Linked DNA regions of Homo sapiens: all the other regions are linked to region 1. Evidence: promoter capture Hi-C in 16 types of primary human blood cells and fetal thymus (Javierre and others, 2016). All regions are on one chromosome and are shown on one strand. Each heading gives the region's core, a stretch centred on a gene start or on the middle of the fragment in contact. The rest is flanking DNA. Distances are from core to core; before and after follow the strand shown.

Region 1 (2,700 bases), core at 133-2,632:
TCACCTGGGACTAGATAACTCAACTGCTTTTACTAGTGACTCCTGAATGCTTGTAGTAGAAGGATAAATGCTAGTGTCACCTATGTTTTTAAAGTCACCTTCCAAAACAAAACTACATTGGAGGTGAATAATAAATCTTTCAAGTTTTTAACTTCATTTTTCAAGGGATTTGGAGGAAAATGGTGAAGAGAGAATCTGTCACAGATACCAAGGTGTTACTGCAATGTAAAAGAGAGTAGACCAGGAGCCTTTGGCCCTCAGCAATCTGTCTTCCTACAAGAAAAATCGAAAGCCCATTTCCATAACCATTCTTATTCCCTGCTACTAGTGTAGGATGCGCAGGACTCTGCCCTCTAGCAGAAAATGCTAATGCCGGAGTGTCCTGCTAAGTCTGAAGGTTACGTTTTTTCATTGCACTCTTATCAAGATAACCCCAGATCTGGCTAGGCTGACATCAAAACAGAACTATCCTTGGAAAGAAAAGAACAGGCCAGAGTTTTTGGAAAAGCCCCAATAACCTAAAGATAAAATCCAGAATGAGAGTCTACTGGTTCATGGCTATCTAAATGGAAACTTCACTCAAGCTGTTTTCTCTGTTCTCTTTCTGCTGCCCCCAACAGCCCTCCCTTCCACCTCCCAGTACTCACTGCTAGCATGTCTCTCTTAATATTGCAAACACTATTACAATGAAGGAACAGAAGAAAGACAGTATTTCATACGAAGGTCACTGCATTTGACCGGTGCTCAATTAGAGCACTGGGCAAAAGTACAATCAGCCTTCCAATGATACCTTTTCAACAAAGGATACCCCACCTCTAGACTGAAGCCTAAATCTATTACTACAGATAAGAAAGCAGGCATCTATGGAAACCTAACATTCAGATACAACTGCCTGTGTATGAATTATATCAAAATTCCCATGAAAGGAAACCAGGTGGGATTTCTACAATCCCAAATTCACCCTGCACCTACCTCCAATGGCTTCTTCAAAGGGAAGGTATAAAGTCATTTGCAATTTATTTCTTTGAACCAGGAGTTTTAGCAGCCCCCACACCTTCTCACAGATAGGAACGATGTTGATGCAGAAACCACCCAAACAGCCCTGTGCCAGCACTGTCGGCCCAAATGACCCAGAGACACCCAGGCGCTACCCAGATCGTGGGGGGTTACCTGTATCTGTCACCGAGTCTCTTTCACCCCTTCTGCGTGATGACATCAAGTGGAAATGGTACACGTTTAGGAGGCAAGAGGCTGACAGGCAGGAAACACAATTGAGACTGAGCTTTCTTCAGCCTGCAGTGAAATACATGCAGGAAGGGTTAGATACGCGCCGCGGAGAAGGAAATCCAAGCGCCCTCCTGGGCAGACGGGGCTGGAGCGGGTGCACTAGGGAGGTGGAGCAAGGCAGATGAGGTGTGGAGGGCTGGCGGCCGAGAAGGGGGCGTCACGGCTCCTAATTGTCTCTACAGGATAAATAACCACCTCCCCCCTCCTCCGCAGTCTCCCCCGCCCACGAGTTCCCCTCTGGTGGCAGAGCGCCTACTAGCAACAGTAAGCCCTAGGAAAGAAAGAAATCGGAGCAGGTGGGGAATAACATCTTGGGGCAAAGACACACTGGCAAAATCTACCAGGTAACCCGGTCATATGGGAATGCGGGGCGCCTAGTCAGCCGCGCAGACAGGCACACAGCGCGGCAATCCCGAGCATCTTTCTTTCGTTTGCCCCTGTCCGCCACCTCATCAAGTCACCGCCACCTCATCAAGTCACCGTCACCTCATCAAGTCACCGTCACTCTGCTTTGGCGATTTCTCTACTCTCTCCAGACCCAGGCAGCGCTCCCCAAGCCATGCCCCGACCCCAGGCGGGATTGGGGACCGCCGCTTCCCGAGCAGCGCCCCACGAGTCCAGCTGGCTTTGTCCTGCCGCTGTCCTTCCAGGAGCAAGCGCCCCAGGCGCGTGTGTCTGCACAAAAGACCCCCAACATCTGGCCCTTCACAGCGCTCTCTAATCCCGGGAGGGGCCCTGGGGCAACTTCTAGGGCTGGAGAAGGCGCGAGACAAGGGGACCGGGAGAAGATGAGCCGGGGTGTGTGCGGGCCGGGGGCGCAACTGGGGCGGGCGCGCGCGCACGTGCACACCCAGGGGCGCGCGCGGCGCGGGCACGAGGAAAGCTCCCTCGGACCGGAGCTCCAGGGGGCATCCGAGGACTCGGCCGAGCAGCCGACAGCGCCGCTCCCCGCCGCGGCCGCCCGCCCAACTCCGCCAGCTCTCAGGAGACACGCAACTCCCGGGACCACCTCCCCCGTGCCCCGCCAGACCCCGCGCTCCCCTCCCCGGGACCCTGCGGCCCCGCCACCCCCTCCGCGGTCCAGAAGATCTCCCCAGTTACAGCAGGCGGCAGCTGCCCTTTCCCGCTTCCACGGCTTCGGCGCGGCCGCCGTAGGGGCGCAGACATCCCTGCGCACCCCTCTGTCCGCCCCCGATCCGGAGCCGGCAGAGCAGAGAAACAAACCGAAACTCACTGACCTTTCTCCGCGGCGGGCTCGGGTGCTCGCTACAGAGGCGGCGGCGGCGGCGACAGCATCGCCGGGTGGTCCCGGCGCGCCCGCTCCTTTCAGCCAGACTCGCGCCCCGGGCCGGCGGCCGCCGCTCCTCCGGCCGAGAGCCACGGGGCGGACGCTGACAGCGCGGCGGCGGCGCC
Region 2 (2,725 bases), core at 1-2,500, 200 kb after region 1:
TGCTGCTATAAAATTAAATTGTTAAAAAGTTTATACCCTGTGCTTAGAAGTAGGTAGGTTGACATCAATGAAAGAAGTATGCTGAACAATCGCTGAAAGAGAACTGGAGAACTCAGTAGTGGCACAACCAAGGAAGAGGCTGCAATGAAACAGAACAGGTCATCTGTCAGTATAAGAGACACAAAAAAAATGTTAGCGTAGGGCCGGGCGTGGTGGCTCACACCTGTAATCTCAGCACTTTGGGAGGCCGAGGTGGGCAGATCACCTGAGGTCAGGAGTTCGAGACCAGCCTTGCCAACATGATAAAACCCCGTCTCTACTAAAAATACAAAAATTAGCTGGGTGTGGTGGCAGGCGCCTGTAATCCCAGCTACTCAGGAGGCTGAGGTAGGAGAATCGCTTGAACCCGGGAGGCAGAGGTTGCAGTGAGCCGAGATTGCACCACTGCACTCCAGCCTGGGTGACAAGAGTGAAACTCCATCTTAAAAAAAAAAGTTACTGTAGAAGCTCTGAATAATCTAGTATCATTTATGGCATTTATTGTTTTGTGACCTTGAACATGAGGCTACATTTCCCCTAATCACAGTCAAGCCTCACATTTTTAATTAACATTACATTTCATTTTTTTAACTACGCCCATATTTTCTCAATTTATATTCAGCCCAGATAACTATAATAATATTAACTCAAAAATGAATTATTTTCTTTTTTTTTTTTTTTTTTTTTTTTTTTATTATACTCTAAGTTTTAGGGTACATGTGCACATTGTGCAGGTTAGTTACATATGTATACATGTGCCATGCTGGTGCGCTGCACCCACTAATGTGTCATCTAGCATTAGGTATATCTCCCAATGCTATCCCTTCCCCCTCCCCCGACCCCACCACAGTCCCCAGAGTGTGATATTCCCCTTCCTGTGTCCATGTGATCTCATTGTTCAATTCCCACCTATGAGTGAGAATATGCGGTGTTTGGTTTTTTGTTCTTGCGATAGTTTACTGAGAATGATGGTTTCCAATTTCATCCATGTCCCTACAAAGGATATGAACTCATCATATTTTATGGCTGCATAGTATTCCATGGTGTATATGTGCCACATTTTCTTAATCCAGTCTATCATTGTTGGACATTTGGGTTGGTTCCAAGTCTTTGCTATTGTGAATAGTGCCGCAATAAACATACGTGTGCATGTGTCTTTATAGCAGCATGTTCATGTCCAAAACACCAAAAGCAATGGCAACAAAAGACAAAATTGACAAATGGGATCTAATTAAACTAAAGAGCTTCTGCACAGCAAAAGAAACTACCATCAGAGTGAACAGGCAACCTACAACATGGGAGAAAATTTTCGCAACCTACTCATCTGACAAAGGGCTAATATCCAGAATCTACAATGAACTCAAACAAATTTACAAGAAAAAAACAAACAACCCCATCAAAAAGTGGGCGAAGGACATGAACAGACACTTCTCAAAAGAAGACATTTATGCAGCCAAAAAACACATGAAGAAATGCTCATCATCACTGGCCATCAGAGAAATGCAAATCAAAACCACTATGAGATATCATCTCACACCAGTTAGAATGGCAATCATTAAAAAGTCAGGAAACAACAGGTGCTGGAGAGGATGCGGAGAAATAGGAACACTTTTACACTGTTGGTGGGACTGTAAACTAGTTCAACTATTGTGGAAGTCAGTGTGGCGATTCCTCAGGGATCTAGAACTAGAAATACCATTTGACCCAGCCATCCCATTACTGGGTATATACCCAAAAATGAATTATTTTCTAATGAAATAAAAGTATTACTCAAGATTTAGCACTCTTTGCTTAATTAGGCATTTATATCTTAGTTCAAAGACAACTTACTCCTCAGAAACTGATTTTTTCCTAACCCATTCCTTCTCCAAGTTTTCCCACCGTAAAGTATGCACTGACAGTTGCAGTATGCCCCTTGGAAAAGAGAAACAGGAATGACTTCACCATGCATGAGAGATGTATCGACTCTCCCCCGGGATAATAAAAGCAACTACCCAAGTGGAGGAAGGGCAGATGAAGTGGGTGGGGTGGCAAAACATAAACTCCTCCATCTCTATTCTGGGAAGGAAATGTGCATAACTTTCTAATCCCCCTAGTGCTCTAGAGGTTGAAGATAGACAAGTTGGGATGAAATCCCGGCTGAATCACTTACTAACTGTTTAAACTATAGGGCAAGTTCATTAACTGATCCAAGCAGAAATTTACCCACCTGTCAAATAGAGATAACATTAAAAAGTTGTGAGGATTAAATACAATTTCACCTATACAATGTTCCCTGAGCATAGTGCCTAGCACATAGTGCTTAGTAACTGTTAACTGTGGTTATTATTATTAGTCAACATCTTCTAAATTAAGTTACATGTAATGTCAATTTCACCTAAAGTCAAGTCACTGCAAGATTTAAGACTATGAAGTTACATTTTTTAATACCCTTAGATGAGTAGCTTCTGACTTTTTTTCCAGATGTGTAGCTCCAATCATAATAAACTGATACATATTTTAACTGGAAGGAATAACATTTCAATATGTCTGATTTTAAAAGTCAGTTAATCTGTTGGACATACGGTGGTTGTTAAGAAATAAAAAAATAAAAAGCAAATAATAAAAGTCAGTTCAAATGAGACCTCTTCTGTAAAACTGTACACATTTTCTGTCCTTGTTTTACTTTTGTCTAAATGATTGATAA
Region 3 (2,700 bases), core at 35-2,534, 220 kb after region 1:
CCCCTGGTAAATGATAGTTAGAAATATATTTTAAAAGAGTAAAGTGTTTTAATGTAGTAAAACCATATACATACTGTTATATTGTCTCAGCAATATGAAGTATCATTAAAGAGATTTTTTTAATTTTTATTTTTTCACTGAAAGCATAGTAAAGTAGGAACAAATTCTTAAAATAAGAATACTTGGAGAGGTCTAGAAATCTGCATTTTGAGAAACTTCAAAAAGTTAAAAGAAGGTAAGTAATTAAAAAATGTATACATCATTTAAGAAGAAACATTATGAGCAAATAATTTTATTGTTCTCTAGCTCCCAAACTTTTAATATCAAATAAAATTAAACATATTGTTTTGAAGTAGTTTTCTGACCAGTTGTACTAGAAAGATATGGAATACTTATAAAATGCTAGTTATAAAATAAAACAGAAGGTCGACACCATTGATAACATAGGAGCACTTAAATTACTTACACCTCTATCTTTATAGCTTTCTTAAGTTATAGGATCATTATTATCAATATATCTTTTTCTCAACTGAAGAAACAGAGATAACTGAGGAAAAATCCAATACAATAAAAGCAAATGAAAGATAAACAAGAGTTAGCTTAGAACAATGACTTGCACATCCTATAAACTCATTACACTGGATTCAGTACTAGTGATTTTATACCATCATCTGAATCCTCACATTTTCTAAACGTACCTTCACTTCTTTACTAACACCTTTTATAAGGTTGGAATGAGACTTGATGATCAACAAAGAGGCATAAGATATCCATCCCACAAAACCAATAACAACATTGACGCCCAAAAAGAATCTGTCATATGTGTGATAATAGGACAATCCTTTCAATGCAAGATGAATTAGCTCCTTGCAAAGGGAGACCTATGGAGAAAAAACATATATAACTTGCTAACAGAAATAATAAGAAAACCTACATTTTAAAGAAAGGAAAATTTTAAATTCCTAACAGCCAAACTGTTGTATTAAAATTAGTGAATAACTGTAGATGATGGATTAAGAACAGATTTTAATTGTTCCAGGATCTTCTTTTAAAGTATGAGAAAAATTTGGAATAAAATGAACTTTTTAATCTTAATAAGAAAGGGCATTTTAAATGTAAACTATTTGTGTTGTATATGTGTGTTTGTGGAAATGATATTCAGACAACTCATAAAAGAAATGAAGGCTCTCTAATATAGGTCCCAAATAATGATAATGGCCATATTTATATTTTTTCTCATATGAGATTACTCAAATCAGTTATAAAACATCATTAAGTAGCTTAATATTTTACAGGAGAAGAATAGCTTATCATTTTAAAATCATCAAAAAAAGCATTAGAAATGCACGGATTGGCAATTATTTAGGCAATTTTAGAAATGAAAACAGAATTCTTTTCTACTTTAAAATTAAATGACCATTTAACAAAGAAAAATTAATGAAAAACAGTGAGATAGGAGTTTGGAAGAGTCAAAATTTCAACATGAATCATTAGACTTTTAATAATGTATAGATAATTCCAAGTGGCAAACATATAGTATTCTAAAATATTATACATTAAGAAGGGTGACACAAACTTGGCATCTATTTTCTCATTTTAAAAAATGGTAATAGTTTATTTCTAATGCTAACCTAAAAAAATGTGGGCCGGGTGCGGTGGCTCATGCCTGTAATCCCAGCACTTTGGGAAGCCAAGGCGGGTGGATCACCTGATGTCAGAAGTTCAAGACCAGCCTGGCCAACATGGCAAAACCCCATCTCTACTAAAAATACAAAAACTAGCTGGGTGTTGTGGCGCATGCCTGTAATCCCAGCTACTCAGGAGGCTGAGGCAGGAGGATTGCTTGAACCTGGGAGGCGGAGGTTGCAGTGAGCTGAGATTGTGCCACTGCACTCCAGCCTGGGCAACAGCGACACTCTGTCTCAAAAAAAAAAAAAAAAATTTACCCATAATATTAGTTGAAATAAGAGAGATCTGTCCACTGCTAAAGCAGCTACTCAGGAAATGCAATCCTTCCTTGAGGGCTCAAGAAAGCTCCCTGGCCTGCCTACTTTGCTCTATTTTTCTCCTCTCCATCCCCAAAATGATAATCAGCTATTTATGTCTATAAGGCCGGTATACTTACCACTTCATCAAACTTTCTGTGTTTTATATAAGATCTTGCTTTTCTTAAAATGTTGAACTGTTTGGAATCAGAAAGCAGTCTATATATAAAAAAAAGAATAGGTTTAAAGGGTTTCCTCATTCCAAGTATATGTTTCTTTTTTCCCCTTAATTAAAAAACAAAGATAGTGAAAATTACAAAACAGCAAACAAAACAAAAATCAAAGAAAAAAACCTGAATTGCTGTTTGTTCTCTGAAGTCTTCCAAGAAATAGCTTATAGTTAAATTTGGTTTTCTTGACTCGAAGTTTCAAATGCCAAACTACACTTATGAAAGTCATATAATCCATCATTCTGAAGAAATGTAATACTCTGGCTAACAAAGAAATTCTGATTAAATTGAAGTAATTAGCAGAACACCAAACGTATGGCATGAGCTCTGCCACTCAGTTGTCCTGTGCTCATGGCAGACTTCACGTGATTGAGGACAGATCCATCAATGTTCTTTTTATCCCTGAGCCAAACAGGGCCTGAGAATTCTTATTATCAAAGAGCTCCAGGCAGAGACTAACCACCATTGGAAGTTAATGAATAATT
Region 4 (2,700 bases), core at 137-2,636, 190 kb before region 1:
ATAAATGCTAGAGGAGTTCTGGAGGTAAATGAAAGAGGACTGGGTAATTAGAAACAACTCATGAAAGCGGCTCAATCCAACCCAATCTAGACTGTGCAGAATGAGGAGAAGCTATGTATTGTTGTAAATTGACTCAGAATCTCTAAATAGGCTCAGAATCTCTAACCTCCTCCTCATCAAGACAAAGACCTTAAACACTGACATTTTCCCACATTTCCCCTATTTCCCATCTTCCAGATGTTTATCTAGTATATTATGCACAAAAGTTTGAAAATACAGGGAAAATATAGCTTGATTTTGGACACGTTTCAATGATTTCTTTGTTCACCATTGTTTTTCTGTTCCACACCTTTTGGATTCATTTTCTCCTGCAGGAAATACGTAAAGTTTAGCAGTTCTTTCAGGAAGGCACTCTGATAGCAAACCCTCCTAGCCCTGGTGTCTGGCTATGTCTGTTTCACTCTCACTCCTGAACAATACTTGGGGAAGGAATTATTCTAGCATTTACCCTCAGTGCTGAAGAGGCAGCTGCCAATCTGCTGGCCATTCTTTTGTGAGGGACAAGTCTTTTCTTACTGCTTGCTTGTAAGACTTCCCCTTTTGTTCTCCATGTTTGGCCATTTCACTTGACTTGTTCCCCACTTCATTCAGTCTTGGCTTAAATGCCACCTCTTCAGAAAGACTTTCCTTGCCCATTTGATCTAAAATACCTCCTTTTACTCTAGTTTATTTTTCCTTCATAATACTTACCTATACATGAATTTAAAGTTATATATATATAAGTATATATATAAAAAACACATATATTATATTCTAGATGCATATTATATATGTGTGTGTGTTCCCCCACTGAATACACAGTACCTAGAACAGGACCTGGCAATAAATCACTAAATCAATAGCTCCTGATAAATGAACAATTATACATAGATGTGAGGTTTCATGGTGGTTGTTGAGTTCATCCTGCTCAGCATTTGGTGCTGAACTCCTTCCATCTTAACATCCTTGGTCTAAAACATTGGCAATTTCCTATATTAAGTGGTTTAGGACTCTGTAATAGTCATGGATCTCCAGAGAACAGAACCAACAGGAGATATATAGAGAGAGAAAGAGAGATTTTAAGGAACGTGTGATTGTGGAGGGTTGGTAAACCCAAAATCTGTGGGGTAAGCCAGCAGTTTGGAGACCTAGGGATGAATTGTAGTTCGAGTCCAAAAACCATCTATAGGCAGAACTTATATAATAGAAGCATAATCTGCTATACTCAAAGTCTACTGATTTGTTTTTTAGAGATAGAGTTTCATTCTGTTGCCCAGGTTGAAGTGCAGTGGCAAAATCATACCTCACTGTAACCTTGAATTCCTGGACTCTAGTGATCTTCCCACCACAGCCTCCTAGCTAGCTGGGACTACAAGCATATGTCACCATGCCCAGGCAATTTTTAAAATTTTTTGTGGAGATGCGCTCTTGCTATGTTGCCCAAGATGGTCTTGAACTCCTGTGCTCAAGCAGTTCTCCCACTTCAGCCTCCCAAGTAGATAGGAGTAGTGAGGATTACAAGTGCATCCCACAACACCTGATTAATTATTTTATTTTTTGTAGAAACAACGTCTTGCTGTATTGCACAGGCTGGTCTCCAACTCCTGGCTTCAAGCGATCCTCCTGCCTTGGCCAGGATTATAGGCATGAGCCACCACACCTGGCCTACTGCTGATTTAAATGTTAATCTCATCTAAAAAAATGCCTTCACAGAAATATCTAGAATAACATTTGAACAATATGTGGATATCATGACCTAGCCACATTGACACATAAAATTAACCTTCACAGACTCTCACCCTAGATGGGAAGTGCTCCATTTGTGCCACCCAATCTCACTCCTGTTTTGCTTGGTGGCCTCTGTTTCCTCCCAGAGCTGCTTACTTCCAGCTGCCACCCACCTCTGGGCTCTCTAGTGGAGTTATTTCACTCTGGGGGCTGTGGCTGCACAGAGATTCCAGTGTCCCACCATGGGCCCTGCAGACCTTCCCAGGCAGTGCTGAAGACCAGGGCCCACCACCCCTTGTCTGGCCATGAGTCCCTTGGGTCATGTGACTTCAACCCCCTCCCTCATCAATGTGAGTTTCCTCTGCACTCAGGTTCACAGAGATTTTCCTCTTGGCATTTTGGGCATTCTTAAACTGTTTTGGAATGGGTTGCATATATTTAAATTTTTTAAAGCAATATTTCACCTTACGCCAGTGGAATGGAAGGTAGGGGAGAGTGTACATGCTCCCTCTGGCACCTTGATTGGAAGTTGGTAGGAATTAAATGGGTCTGGGAGAGATGGCAAGGCATCCTGGGTGCAAGAGAGCAGAGAACAGATGGGAAGAGTGTGCTCCATGGTGAGGAAAGCCAAGAGCCCTTCTTGAGCATTCTCATACTGGAGCACCTGTTACGCGCTGGGGGCTGTGCAGGTGCTGGGGGCTGGGCAGGTGCTGGAGACAGTGATTACAAGACATGCGCATTCCTGTTCTCAGCAAGCCCAGCACGGAGACTGGAGAGAGCATGCTGGGCACAGTGGCAATCAGGGTTTGATAAGGAAGGGTCAGATTTTATTTTATTTTATTTATTTTTTCAGATTTTTTGCAAATGCCTTTAATATGAATATTCTCTTTGACAAGTTGCAACAAAGTTGAGAAAATGCAGTAGCTAGATCAA
Region 5 (2,700 bases), core at 75-2,574, 210 kb before region 1:
TTCACTGTAATAATTGCCTCATTTATAATTTTTGCGAAACCAGTTTCACAAAGTTTGTATTATCAAAGAATGAAGTGTTTAAAAGAAACTCTATTGCTGCTGAGGTATCAATTAGAATCACATGACTTAAGACTTTTTACAAAGGAGAAAAGCAATCCCTATGACTTGTCTCCTGTGGATTATGTGCGTGTCTTCATATCAGTGAAGAAAGGATAGGCTTTCACTACTGGAGGTTTATTCCTGACATACAACACATGTTCACTGCAAGTCAGCAAGTTAGCTAAGGACTCGTGTCTCCTCACTAAGACCCAGGCTGCTGGAAGAGCTACAACCTTGAACTTTGCCGGGTAGAAGGAAAGAGCTTTGGAGTATCTCACATTAGCAGTTAAATGCTCTGGCCTGGAAGTGATACATGTCACTTTTGTTCATGGCTCAACGACCAGATTGGTTGAATGAACCACAGGGAGCCAGAAAGTACAATCCTAACATATACCTCCTCTGGCAAAGGGAAAACATTCATTCCCTCACTGCCTTAAGCCCAGCACAATCTGAGAACACTCATTCCATTTTATGAAGGAACATGGACACTGTGGGAACCATGGAGCTACAGAGAAGTTTAAATTTTTCTGAAGGCTTGATAATTTAAGTCTATATAATAAACTGCTAATACAAGATTAACAGGAAGAAAAGGCATAAAAATTTTATTACATGCACACATGTGCATGTGAGTCATACATAAAAATGAAAAACTCAAAGAAATGACCAGGTGGTTAACACTTCTACATCATCTTGAAAGAATGGGGGTTCAGTCAATGACCAAAAAAGAGAGTATGGTGGTAAATCAAGTTATGGTGACAAGACACGTTATGGGAGGGAAAGAAGAGGAGGCTTGGCTAGCAAAGGTGGTCTTGTTATGTAGATGAAACCTTACAGGTAGCAGCCCTCAGAGAAGAGATGGAAAATGTTTCTTTCAGACCTTTCAAGGCATCAGATTCTTACTCTTTCCTAGATCTGGACAAGCGAGAGTCTCAGAAAAAGCCTGGCTGCATCAATGCAGATTTTCTCTACAAATACAAATCTCCCTCACAATAGACAGCTTTGCAGGGCTAGTTCTGTTTGTGGGCCCTCTCAACAGCCATCTCAAAATACATCAAAGAAGTATATTTTAGGGTGAAATATTTTGATTTCCTTCAGAACACAAAGTTATGCCTACAGGCCAGCCTTACCTTACTTTAGTCTGATTGGCCAAGCCATTGCATATCCATAATCAGGCAGTTTTCAAAACCCAAAGGCACAACAAATAAGCAGCCTTCCTTGATAAACGTTGTACCTCAGATTAGAAAGAGTATGGAGTAATTATAACATATTGTTTCAGCACTGGGCATATTGAATGTTAAATATATGACCTAAAAGAAAGGAAGTCAACATACTGAAGAGATATCTTTACTACCAGGTTTATTGCAGCACTTTTCACAATAGGCAAGATTTGAAATCAACCTAAGTGTCCATCAGTAGATAAATGAATAAAGAAAATGTGGTACATATATGCAATGGAGCACTATTCAGCCATAAAAAAGAATGAGATCCTGTCATTTGCAACAACATAAATGGAACTGAAGGACCATTATGTTAAGTGAACTAAGCCAGGCACAAAAAGACAAATTTTGCATGTTCTCACTCATTTGTGTGAGCTAAAAATTAACATAACTGAACTCACAGAGATAGACAGTAGAACAGTCACTACCAGAGGCTAAGAAGGATAGTGGGGATGGTTAAGGGGTATAAAAATATAGTTAGATAGAATGAGTAAGATCTGGTATGTAATAGCACAACAGGGTGGCTACAGTCAACAATAATCTATTACACATTTAAAAATAACTAAAAGTTTTATTGGAATGTTTATAACACAAAGAAATGATAAATGCTTGAGGTGATGGATACTCCATTTAAGCTGATGTAATTATTACATACTGTATGCTTCAGAATATCTCATGTACCCCATAAATATATGCACCTACTATGTATGCATAAAATAATTTTAAAATTAAAAAAAACAGTTACATGTACGTATGTCCAGCCTAACTTATAGAAAGTAAACCCAAAAGCTAGGGGATGCTTGCTGAAGCCAATTCTGCTATGGCTAAATTCACCCAACGAATGCCAACCTCCTAAGATTTCTTCCTGAATGATTCTTGGGAATGCAGTGCAATACATCCTACAATTGGATCGTGAACCCCTCATTAGATGACAAATTACATAAAGTGGATCATGTCTTTGTATCCCTGTGCATGGTCCATGAAAGAAATTCAATAAATATTTTTTGGTGACATTGTATCCATTAAGCAGGATTTTGAAGGTCCACAGTTGGGATTTTGAAGAGATTTCTCCCAGAGGTTGAAGGGTTAAGGGAATTGACAATGCTGATCCACCCAGAGACTAACAGTAGGAAGCTCATTATATCCAACAGTAAAGGGAACTGCATTACCTGAGCCTGGTAAGCAATGCAGCCAAGGGAGATGAGTGGCCAGCATTGCATCAAGGGTTCTCTCCCATCCTCCTTCTGTTGCTCGTACTTTCCATTGGCTGAACCCAACCAGGCTGAACCCAACAATGATGCAGACTCAAGAGCATCATTGCTCTTGAGTTATGCAGGTCCAAGAGCATCAGTGAGCTGTGGGACAACCTCAAGAGGCATAATAT
Region 6 (2,700 bases), core at 18-2,517, 180 kb after region 1:
TCACATTATGTGTGGTCAGTTTCAGAAATACAATGAATAATGGTTCACCACCACACAAAAGTACTCTCATCTAAACCGAGTGACTAGGAATCTGATTTGGGAAGCTACCCTTATTAGTATTCCTAGTTACTTCTGGCATGGGATGTTATATGGTGACAAATTAACCTTACCCAAAAAGACCGCTGGTGTTCATTCTCAGCTACTGGGAGGCAATTTCTGGGCCCTTGGAATGTCATGGAATGTCATGCCTCATAGAAGGTTCTGCCTGAGGGCTTGGCCACTGGACAGTCTAATAATGTGATATATGATGAGGGCTTTGGGCCATATTACCAGCTGTATCCCCAGAAGGGATTAAAGGTCAGCCAGGTAGGCAGTATGTGATCAAGCCCCACTAAAAAGTCTGGACAACAAAGCTTAGGTAAGCCTGGTTGGCAATACTCCATGTGTACTGTCACACATCAATAGTGGGAGGGTAATGCTGTCCTGATTCCACAGGGAGAAACAGAAGCTTGGCATTTGGTGTCCTGGACTCTGCCCTATGCACTGGAATAAACTGTAACTGAATATAACAGCATTCAGTGATTTCAGTGAATTCTAGTGAATTACTAAAGCTGAGGGTGGTCTTGGGAACTCCCCAAAGTTGTAGACATAAAATAGGTTCCTCTTTTTGTTAATGAGAGAGGCCTACCTACATACATCAGAACTCATTTATTGCAGCTACGTCTTGATTAACATCTTCCCAACAGAAAAGCTGTATTTCCTGTTTCCTTCCTTCCTTCCCTCCCTCTTTTCCTTTCATTTTTAATCTGAGAGAAGGGTTAAAAATCAACATTTCAGTAGAAAAATGATGTATTATCTAAATTTAAAGTTAGCTTTTTCTGCTAATTTTCTTTGGAAGGTTCATTTCAGATACAAAGCAACATGGAAGACGAGGTATGACAAATTCAAGTAGTAAGACTTTTGACACCTGAAGAAGAGCACACATCCTGCATAACTAATATAAAAGAACATAATTTATTGTGTAAATTATGCCAGCACTTACAACTCAACATCTAAAGATTTCACGTACCAAAATGCATTCATATTTCTCTTTATTAAATTAACCCAGGACTCTTAATCTAATTTATATGGACTACCCAGTAATGCCTTACCAAAGCCATAATGTCTGATATGACGAGAACAATGAGAAAAAGGCTGGAAAAAAAAAGAAGGAAAAATTACATCTAATACAACAGGTGCATTTTTCAAGCTCATTAAAATCCAAGTGAGACTAGGCAAATAACCTAGTATTGTTGGTATTTTTGCTTCTGAAAATACAACTTTCAAAGGTTCTTTTCATATTATCATGGGTGACCATACCATAGAGATGAGCTGGACTGTAAAATGTGTTATTAAGTGCTCTGAATATTTATTTCAGTAAAATGAAAGGGACATACATTATGATTTTCAAAACTAAACTTTTGAGGTAATTGTTAACTAATATGCAATTTCAAGAAATAATACAGAGGGATCCTCTGTACCCTTTACCCAGTTTCCCCCAGTGGGAAGATCTTGTAAAACCATAGTATAATATCCCAAGCAGGACAATGACACTGATACTGTCAAGGTAAAGAGTGTTCCCATCAGCACAAAGATCTCTCATGATGCCATTTTATAGCCACATCTGTCCTCCCCTCACCATCCCTCTGCCTAATCCCTCACCCCTGAGAGCCACTAATCTGTCCCCCATTTCTATAATTTTGTCATTTTAAGAGTGTTTTATGAGTAGAATCACATACATAACAAGTTGAACAATTTATATAACACTTTGTTACCTTTTGTAACCTTCTGGGATTGGCTTTTCTCACTTAGCATAATTTTCTCAAGAATCATCCAAGGTGCTGTATCAATGGGTCATTTACTTTTATGGCTGAATAGTACTCCATCATATGGATATACAATGGTTTACTTAACCATTCAAGCACCAAAGGACATCAAGGGTTGTTTCTACTTGTGGCTATTGTTCCAGTTTGTGGCTCTTACAAATAAAGCTTTTATAAACATTTGTGTCTAATTTTTTGTGTAAACCTTTCATTTCTCTAGGAAAATACATCAAGAGTGCAATTGCTAGGTCATACAACAGTAGCATGTTTAGTTTCATAAGAAACTGTAAAACTCTTTTCAGAGTGGTTGTACCATGTTACATTTCCACTAGCAATGCATGAGAGCAATTTCCTTACATCCTCAACAGCATTTGGTGATGCCACTATTTGTTTTTAACTATTCTGATAAACTGTTCTGGTAAGTGTGTAATGATATTTCATTGTTGATTTTTTTTTTCTTTTTTGAGATGGAGTCTCGCTCCGTCGCCCAGGCTGGAGTGCAGTGGTACAATCTTGGCTCACTGCAACCTCCGCCTCCTGGGTTCAAGCGATTCTCCTGCCTCAGTCTCCCAAGTAGCTGGGACTACAGGCACCCGCCACAACGCCCGGATAATTTTTGTATTTTTAGTAGAGACGGGGTTACACCATGTTGGTCAGGCTAGTCTTGTACTCCTGACCTCGTATCCGCCCGCCTCGGCCTCCCAAAGTGCTGGGATTACAGGCATGAGCCACCACGCCCAACCCATTGTGGTTTTACATGCATTCCTTTAATGGCTAATAATGCTGAACAACTTTTCATTGTCTTATTTGCCATCTGTATATCTTCTTCAGGTGTTTT
Region 7 (2,700 bases), core at 76-2,575, 150 kb before region 1:
ATGTACACTGCCTGCCCAGGGATATATCCAGTTCACCTGGAAGCTAAGCAAGAAGAATTAAAATACAGAAATGGGAATAAAGTTTGCAACCTCTCCAACCCTTTGTTCCAGGCTGCTTTTTACGCCTCAAAACTTACCAGATTTTGTCTGCACCTCCCAGACAACCTCAGAAATGTGTTTCCCAAAAATCTCTTTCCCTGGTCAGTTTCTCTGTCATGCACTACTTTCAGAAACCCAGACTATCCTCTGGCCCATCAGCCCTCATGCCCAGAGACCCATGCCAAGTTAAGTTGTTCATTGGGCACAGATATGTCTCCAAGGCACCTTCTAAATCTGTCAAGGCCAATTTAGGAACAGAAGGTTGAGGCCAGATGGAAAAGTTGGGAAAGCACCCATGGAGAACAGAGCTAGCCCAGGCCTGGAGGCACAAGATCACTAATCTGATGAGTGGCTCCAATCAAATGAGACCACATGGACATTGGCAAAGAGCATAAGGAAAGTTCTCTCTTCACTCAAGCCTGTAGCCTGTCCTAGAACAAAGGAGCAAAGGTTCTTTCAGCATAAACATTGCCGACTCTCTGGAGGAAAACAGGCTCTTTTTTATATTTACAAAATCAGAACCAGCAGAGGCCAGACCTAGGAATCTGTATTTTTAAAAGGCTCCCCAGGAGCAATGGAAACCACTGGTCTAAATTAAAAAGTGATGACAAATAAAAAAGCCAACATAGGGTGTTTTGTGTTCGCTCTCATTCTATGGTGTTGTGGACATCCATAGAGAATGTGCTATTTATCCTATTTATTTACTTGTTTTTCGAAACAGCAAAAGGATACTGAGATAGGAGACTTTGCTCAACAAGCCAGTGCTAATCACCATAAAGGGTCTGTTGTGTCACACTCTGATGAATCACCACATGTCAGCAGGGACACAGCCAACGGAAATATGTTCTATGGCTTTGGTTTCCTCTTTTCCCTTGATGCATGAAAAAATCCTTTTCCCCAAGCTAAGTTTAGGGCAAGAGGCTCTTTTTGTTTGTGAATGGAGGCAGTCTGAGGGTGAAACAGGATGCCCCAAACAGAAGGAAGGGCCCAAGGAAATCTGCCATCTGGAGAGTGAGCTGTAGGGGCACCTTGGATTCCTATGCAGAATTGTCCTTAGATTTAGGCAACAGCCTGGCGAGCCTGACTCTTGCTGAACAGAGAGGCTGTGCCTCTCTCATGTGAAGAGTGGATGTCATCCACACACGTGGGGGAAAGGACTCCTTCAGGGGCTCATTCCTCCTCCATCTGAGGGCGCTCCCACCAGTCTTTCACTATCTGCCTCCATCCACTGCTCCTCAGTACCTTGGCCTCAGCCCTCTTTGCTTCCTTCTCAGCCTCTCTATTTCTCCCAGTCACCCAGCCTTAGAATCTTTGTGGCCAGGCACAGTGGCTCATGTCTGTAATCCCAACACTTTGAGAGGCCGAGATGGGAAGATTGCTGGAGCCCAGGAGATCGATGGTGCAGTGGGCTATGATCATGCCACTTCACACCAGCCTGGGTGACAGAGCCAGGCTTGTCTCTAAAAATAATACTAGCAATAATGAAAACAAACAAACAAACAAACAAAAATAATCTTTTTCTCTATGAGACATAATGGAAAGAGAAACCGACTTGGGGTCTGAAAATCTGAGTCTGGATCCCAACACTGCCAGTTCTCCAGTTCTCGGCCGTGTGACTTTGAGCACATCCCTGACATGTTTATATAGCACTGCACCTCTGTTTTTTGTTTGTTTGTTTGTTTTGTTTGTTTGTTCGAGACGGAGTCTTGCACTGTCCCCCAGGCTGGAGTGCAGTAGTGCGACCTTGGCTCACTGCAAGCTCCACCTCCCGGGTTCACGCCATTCTCCTGCCTCAGCCTCCCGTGTAGCTGGGACCACAGGCGCCTGCCACCACGCCCGGCTAATTTTTTGTGTATTTTTAGTAGAGACGGGGTTTCACCGTGTTAGCCAGGATGGTCTTGATCTCCTGACCTTGTGATCCGCCCGCCTCAGCCTCCCAAAGTCCTGGGATTACAGGCATGAGCCACCGCGCCTGGCCACACCTCTGTTTCTAATAACTGCCCGATCCACACCTCTGCACTGTTGTGAGAATCAAATAAACTATGTGAAATACTTTGTATGCTTATTTATCTCTTCACACATACACACGTATGTCTTGTTTTTGACATACCGTCTTGGTTGCTGCCATATTGAATCAGCCCCCAAATCCTGCTGATTGTGGTCTTGTTTGTATCCCTCGCATACATTCTTGCTTTTCCATATTCATTGCTATCACTGCCCTCCAAATATATTCCTTCAAGTTGACCTTCACTGTAGGTCATTCAAGATTACAGTATTAGGTTCTTAGCCTTCTGGCAGCCATCAGTGGTTAGAGGGGTGAAGGCCACAGTCTCCTCCCCACCACCTCTCAGCCAGGTGGTCTGCTGTAATGAGATCAAGACTCAGACCAAACTCTGACACATAGAGAGACCTATCAGCCAGCAGCAACGAAAACATCAGACCACCTGGTTTGCAAGCTCAGCAAACATAGGACCACCTGGTTTATCCTAGCTCTCTGTCCTTTCATTCCAAGCAGATGTGACAAGGAGCTAGCAGCAGGGTTCAGTTAATTGGTCAAATGACACGATTCTCCTTAAGCAAATGAACACAGAATCTAGCAGA

The links. Contacts are between HindIII fragments. The CHiCAGO score rates a contact against its expected background, and 5 or more counts as called.
Region 2: a contact is called between a fragment that was not itself captured here and the fragment with the promoter of RNF152 in region 1, in 1 of 17 cell types (M2 macrophages). The highest score is 7.6, in M2 macrophages.
Region 3: a contact is called between a fragment that was not itself captured here and the fragment with the promoter of RNF152 in region 1, in 1 of 17 cell types (M2 macrophages). The highest score is 5.8, in M2 macrophages.
Region 4: a fragment that was not itself captured here is called in contact with the fragment with the promoter of RNF152 in region 1 in 1 of 17 cell types (M2 macrophages); the score reaches 6.3 in M2 macrophages.
Region 5: a fragment that was not itself captured here is called in contact with the fragment with the promoter of RNF152 in region 1 in 1 of 17 cell types (M2 macrophages); the score reaches 6.5 in M2 macrophages.
Region 6: a contact is called between a fragment that was not itself captured here and the fragment with the promoter of RNF152 in region 1, in 1 of 17 cell types (M2 macrophages). The highest score is 6.8, in M2 macrophages.
Region 7: a fragment that was not itself captured here is called in contact with the fragment with the promoter of RNF152 in region 1 in 1 of 17 cell types (M0 macrophages); the score reaches 5.1 in M0 macrophages.

What each region holds. Positions count from the first base shown.
Region 1 is chr18:61,891,625-61,894,324 of GRCh38, forward strand. It overlaps RNF152 (ring finger protein 152), which reads right to left and starts at 1,383. Exons shown (of 2, transcript NM_173557.3): 1 at 1,171-1,383. RefSeq lists a silencer at 2,569-2,700. The HindIII fragment of the contact is 8,244 bases long and covers 1-2,700 here.
Region 2 is chr18:62,095,812-62,098,536 of GRCh38, forward strand. It overlaps PIGN (phosphatidylinositol glycan anchor biosynthesis class N), which reads right to left. Exons shown (of 31, transcript NM_176787.5): 23 at 37-139. Among named protein-coding and RNA genes, the nearest start is that of PIGN, 90 kb to the right of the region's middle. RefSeq lists an enhancer at 468-637. The HindIII fragment of the contact is 4,873 bases long and covers 1-2,725 here.
Region 3 is chr18:62,112,436-62,115,135 of GRCh38, forward strand. It overlaps PIGN (phosphatidylinositol glycan anchor biosynthesis class N), which reads right to left. Exons shown (of 31, transcript NM_176787.5): 15 at 2,126-2,204; 16 at 699-881. Among named protein-coding and RNA genes, the nearest start is that of PIGN, 73 kb to the right of the region's middle. RefSeq lists an enhancer at 2,202-2,371. The HindIII fragment of the contact is 4,101 bases long and covers 1-2,700 here.
Region 4 is chr18:61,697,130-61,699,829 of GRCh38, forward strand. No RefSeq gene overlaps it. Among named protein-coding and RNA genes, the nearest start is that of LINC01544, 50 kb to the right of the region's middle. The HindIII fragment of the contact is 8,587 bases long and covers 1-2,700 here.
Region 5 is chr18:61,677,371-61,680,070 of GRCh38, forward strand. No RefSeq gene overlaps it. Among named protein-coding and RNA genes, the nearest start is that of LINC01544, 69 kb to the right of the region's middle. The HindIII fragment of the contact is 7,786 bases long and covers 1-2,700 here.
Region 6 is chr18:62,073,628-62,076,327 of GRCh38, forward strand. It overlaps PIGN (phosphatidylinositol glycan anchor biosynthesis class N), which reads right to left. Exons shown (of 31, transcript NM_176787.5): 29 at 1,152-1,194. Among named protein-coding and RNA genes, the nearest start is that of PIGN, 110 kb to the right of the region's middle. The HindIII fragment of the contact is 1,522 bases long and covers 507-2,028 here.
Region 7 is chr18:61,737,788-61,740,487 of GRCh38, forward strand. No RefSeq gene overlaps it. Among named protein-coding and RNA genes, the nearest start is that of LINC01544, 9.0 kb to the right of the region's middle. The HindIII fragment of the contact is 4,341 bases long and covers 1-2,700 here.